Linked DNA regions of Homo sapiens: region 2 is linked to region 1. The links are contacts of gene promoters, found by promoter capture Hi-C in blood cells and fetal thymus (Javierre and others, 2016). All regions are on one chromosome and are shown on one strand. The core of a region is centred on a gene start or on the middle of the fragment in contact, and the rest is flanking DNA. Distances in the headings are between cores, read along the strand shown.

Region 1 (2,700 bases), core at 97-2,596:
ATAAGAAGTGGGGCCCCTGGGCCTCACAGTGGGCACTTTACCCCGGGTTGGATTTCATGGAGGCCCCTCCGGCCGTGTTGTCCGCAGGGTACGATTTTATGAAGGCTCTGAGTTGGTGGCTGACTCTGGCGTCACCATAGACACCACAATGCGTGGAGGCCGACTTGGCGTTTTCTGCTTCTCTCAAGAAAACATCATCTGGTCCAACCTCAAGTATCGCTGCAATGGTAATGTGCATTCTCGTTACTGTTCAACATTGTTACTAGAATTAGTCAAACACTGCCACCTTATTTTTATACCGCACTTCCCCCCCAAAAGCCCAACGCTCATACCACATAGTCATTAAAACCTGATAGTCCCTGTGTACCAGAAGTAAAAAGCAGATCACATTTATCCTATTTTATCCATGTGGAAATTAAGACCCATAGAATTTAACTGCATGGTTTAGGGTTTGGGGTTCAGTGAGAAATCCAGTCAGATTTAATTTACAGGAAGCCTTTATTTTCATGTGGTTAAAACATAATCACAGATGCAAAATCCATTCTGCCTGCTGATTTTCTGCACGGCCGGGAAGGAGCACTCCTGGGCTTTAAGCCAACGGTTTGCAAAGCAGCCTGCAGGAGAAAATGGCGGCGAGGGCCTGCGGGGCGTCCTGGGCGGGCTAACAGCGCCCCCTACAGGACGCCTGAGCCGCGGGCGGGGGTCCGGGGTCCGGGGTGGAAGGAGCCTCGCTAACCTCCCTGTGCCCATTCCTATTGCAGACACCATCCCTGAGGACTTCCAAGAGTTTCAAACCCAGAATTTCGACCGCTTCGATAATTAAACCAAGGAAGCAATCTGTAACTGCTTTTCGGAACACTAAAACCATATATATTTTAACTTCAATTTTCTTTAGCTTTTACCAACCCAAATATATCAAAACGTTTTATGTGAATGTGGCAATAAAGGAGAAGAGATCATTTTTAAAAACCGTGTTGCTCAGACATTGCTCTCACGTGGCTCAGGCTTTGAGGTGCCCGTTCTCGGAGGGATCCCTGTTAACTTGCAGGGTGGTAGTTTCTTCTCAGACCCGGTGGCCGATAAGATGAGCCTATGCGTGAATCACAAGGCCCAGGCCAGAGGTCTCAGCTGGGGTCCCCCCAGTTTGCTCCATACAAAACGCCTAACCGTTCCATGCTCACCTTGGCAGCCTCCTTATTTCGGGTAAGGGGTCTCAGAAACACGTGTTTGGGGTGGCACCTTCCCTAGGGAGGCGTTTTTCTGACCTAGTCCTGGGACAGATTTGCCCAATTCTTTCTGATGCTGTCATCCCATCCCACACCTTCCACAGACTTCTATTCTGGCCCCTTCAACGTAATTCTTAAGCTTATTTATATATTTGGCTCCCCCTAGTGGACTGTAAGCATATTGACAATAAAGGATCATGTCATTACAATCAATATCCCCACAGTACCTGGAATGTAGTAAATAGCCAGTAAATGTTTACTGAATTAATAAACGAAGAATGAATGAATGAATGCCTCTTAAAGGACAGTAGAGTGTACATGATCATAAAAGTCCTCCTCAACTCAAAAAGTCACAACATATCCTCTATTTGTGGTACCAGTAGCTGGATGTACAGCACAGAAACTTGCCTAATTTGTACACTAGCCTTTCTTGTATTTCAATTGTAAATCAAGATCCAAGCAAATTTTTATAAATTCTCTAGAAATTTTGTTTCAAAGAATATTGCTGTGCGGTTATATATTTTCTTATTCCAGAATTCCTAGAGATATATTAAATCATGTATGAAGAAAAAAACACCACAGTTTTATCATGACTTTAACAGTGAGAAAATACAATGGTGCATGCATGAGATCTGGAGGATTTCTGGACATCCTCCTCTCATGTACAGCCTGGAGATGTGTGTGGCCTTGTAATCCAGGACATCTGATCTCCTACATCAAAAACTCCAATGGGGCCAGGTGTGGTGGCACTTGCCTGTGGTCCCAAGCACTTTGGGAGGCCAAGGCAGGCAGATCACTTGAGGCCAGGAGTTCAAGACCAGCCTGGCCAACGTGGCGAAACCCATCTCTACTAAAAATACAAAAATTAGCCAGGTGTGGTGCCACTTGCCTATAGTCCCAGCTATTTGGGAGGTTGAAGTGGGAGAATCACTTGAGCTGGGGAGGCAGAGGCTGCAGTGAGCAGAGATTGCACCACTGTACTCCAGCCTGGGCAATGAGAGTGAGGCTGGTGAAAGGAGGCAGCAACCCACACCATGCCCACCCCTGGGGCAGCCTCCCTGTTGTCGGCTGTGCAAGCCCAAGAACGCAGTATGTCCACAGGAAACAGACTCTCTTGGTTAAATCTTTTGTGTCTATAACTATTTTAGAAACCATGGGCCCACAGGAGATCCAGAACATAATTCCATCCCTTAGGGAGCTTATTACATTTTTGGGAAGACAAAACTTGTTATTTATGCAAAACAAGAAACAAAGACGCATGTAGAACCAGCAGTGTGCTGAAGCCAACTCCTACCAGCTCATAAGAGCCAACTATTCAAGTTTTAGGAATATTGTGAGCCAGTTAAACGGTTGGTAGTTTGAAATTGGCCATGGTGGGAGTATTTACACAGAAACTGGCAAACACTACAAATCAGGGCTCCAGAGAACTGGTTGTTAAATATTTATCAGCACACAAGTGATTATTCTACCTTGT
Region 2 (2,700 bases), core at 7-2,506, 1.1 Mb before region 1:
CCAGTGTTTTGGTTATCAGCACTTGGCTCCTTTTTACTTATGCAAATGTCTCCAGCCTGCTTGAATTCCTCCCCAGAAAATGGGCTTTTCTTTTCTACTACATGGTCAGGTTGCACATTTTCCAAACTTTTACACTCTGCTTCCCCTTTAAATATAAGTTCCAACTTCAGGTCATTTCTTTGTTCACACACATGAGCATTGACTGTCAGAAGTAGCCAGGCCACATCTTGAATGCTTTGCTGCTTAGAAATTTCTTCCACTAGATACTCTAAATCATCAGTCTCAGTTTCTAAGATCCATAGATCCCTAGGGCAGGAGCACAATGCAGCCATGTTATTTGCTAATGCATAACAAAAGTGACCTTTATTCCCATTCCCAATAAGTTCTTCATTTCCATCTGAGACCTCCTCAGCTTGGCCATCTCTGTCCATATCATTATCAGCATTTAGGTCACAACGATTCAACACATCTCTAGGGAGTTTCAAACCTTCTCTCATCTTCCTGTCTTCTTCTGAGCCCTCCACATCCTTCTAACCTCTGCCCATTACCCAGTTCCAAAGCTGCTTCCACATTTTCAGATATCTTTATAGCAATATCCCACTCCTCTGTACCATTTTTATGTATTAGTTTGTTCTCTCACTGCTATAAAGAAATGCCTGAGACTGGGTAATTTATAAAGAAAATAGATTTAATTGGCTCACAGTTCTGTAGACTATACAGGAAGCAAGATGTGGGCATCTGCTTTGCTTCTGGGGAGGTCTCAGGGAACTTACAATCATGGCAGAAGGCAAAGGGGGAGCTGGCATGTCTTACATGGCAGGAGCAGGAGCAAGAGACAGGAGGGAGGTGCTACATACTTTTAAACAACTAGATCTCATGAGAACCCACTCACTATTGTGAGGACAGTACCAAAGGGGATGTTGCTAAATCATTCATGAGAAACCACCCCCATGATCCAATCACCTCCCACCAGGCTCCACCTCCAACAATGGGGATTACAATTTGGCATGAGATTTGGTGCAGACACAGATCCAAATCATATCACTCCCACACACAGGTAGTTTTCATTCTCTGCCCTTAGCAATTTAAAAGAAAGCACTCATATAGCATTTTTCTAACCAAAATTACTGACCAGTTAAAATTCCTTCTCAAAAATGTTTAATATTACTAGAACAGGAACCATAGTCACTAAAAAAGGGGGATAAAATAGAAACCTGGGAAAATAACTAAAATATAGTTCCTAAGCCAGGCAAGTAATCAGGCTAATTAGCGTTCAAATCAAACCAGATTTTCAAAACTAAAGCCCCCATTACATGTCTTTAATATTAAATCTTACTAGATTTGATGTTAAAGAGAACACTTAATTTTTCGGTTTTTTAATCTGATGATTCAAAGGAAAACTGTGAAATGGACCTGTGGCTTTATCAGATTTATGTTTAACTGCTTTGGCCAACAACTATAATATAGAGTTTTCATAATAGATTTCATCTCTCTAGAGTAGAGTGAAGAACAATTGCCCATTTGATATTTTAAGCATAGCACTTAAGCCTAAATGCAAAGTAAATAATAATCAAAGGAAATTTTAAAAGCATGAAGAAATGAGGCCTCAATAGGGACCCAAGATCTTCCTTACTGGGATCTTAAAAAAAGAAAAAGGATTTCATGTATAGTTCCTTTACTCTAAATGACTTATTTAGATTCAAATCAATAATATGGAAAGGAACTAACACTTAGTGAGGTACCAAATGTTCTTTATCTCATCTAATACTTATGACAAATTTATGGAGTGAACATTTTCTTCATTTTACAGATGAGAAAACTGAAATGCTCATAGATTAAGCAATACATCTAGTCAGAATCAGTAAATGTCAGAGTCACAATTCAAACCCTTCAACAAATATTTACAGAGCCCTCACTAGTGATCAGACACAGGGGTGAGGCTAAGGATTCTTGGCCTCTGTCCTCAAAGTTGAGGAGGTGGTCAGGAATATAAGGCGTGGTCAGTACCAGGGCAGAGGCAAGTGCAGAGTGCTATAGAAAACGGATTCTCAACACTCACCTGCCTCAATGACCACCTATATCTGAAGGGTCCAAAGCCATACTTGCAGAGCTAAGCTCTCCAAACCCACATGCTCAGATGCCTTCTGGGACTCTCTGCTTGGCTACCCCAGAGTCCTCCAACCCAAGTCCTGACAATTTCCCACCCACACCCCTCCACCTGTGTTTCCTAGTTAATCCACAGTTCATTAACATCCTCCTCTCACCCCTTCACATGCAGTCCCTCATGTGGTATCCACCCTTCCTTCTAAATAGCACTCATTGCTCTTTCTTCTCCATCCTATGGCCACTGCTTTAGTTGAAGTCTTCGCCTTCTCTCCACTGGATTTATTTGATAATTAGGAGAATGATCTCCCAGTCATCAGACGAACTCACTTTTAATCTGTTTCCCATCACTAGAGTGTCACTCCTTACTCAAAATTCTTGGGTCACTCCCCAGGTTCTCCAGGATACACTCCAAATTCCTTAGCTTGGCACATGAGACTCTTCATAATGAGGGCCCAGGACTTTTCAAGTATCATCTTTTGACATTACTTTCAACAACAAAATATTTACTGGGCATCTGCTATGTGCCAGCCCTGAGCTGGGTGTTGGGGATAAAAATAATAAACAAAACATATGTTGTATGGCCAGCACCTGTAC

What was found. The method cuts DNA at HindIII sites, captures the fragments that hold promoters and counts their contacts. A CHiCAGO score of 5 or more calls a contact.
Region 2: a fragment that was not itself captured here is called in contact with the fragment with the promoter of THBS4-AS1 in region 1 in 1 of 17 cell types (endothelial precursors); the score reaches 5.5 in endothelial precursors.

Annotation. Positions count from the first base shown.
Region 1 is chr5:80,082,319-80,085,018 of GRCh38, forward strand. It overlaps THBS4-AS1 (THBS4 antisense RNA 1), which reads right to left and starts at 1,347. Exons shown (of 8, transcript NR_109930.1): 1 at 1,182-1,347; 2 at 42-219. THBS4 (thrombospondin 4) reads left to right here. Exons shown (of 22, transcript NM_003248.6): 21 at 88-227; 22 at 762-969. The coding sequence ends at 823. RefSeq lists silencers at 656-745, 1,861-2,075. The HindIII fragment of the contact is 5,954 bases long and covers 1-1,363 here.
Region 2 is chr5:79,012,950-79,015,649 of GRCh38, forward strand. All of the region lies in intron 14 of DMGDH (dimethylglycine dehydrogenase), which reads right to left. Among named protein-coding and RNA genes, the nearest start is that of ARSB, 29 kb to the left of the region's middle. The HindIII fragment of the contact is 2,899 bases long and covers 1-2,700 here.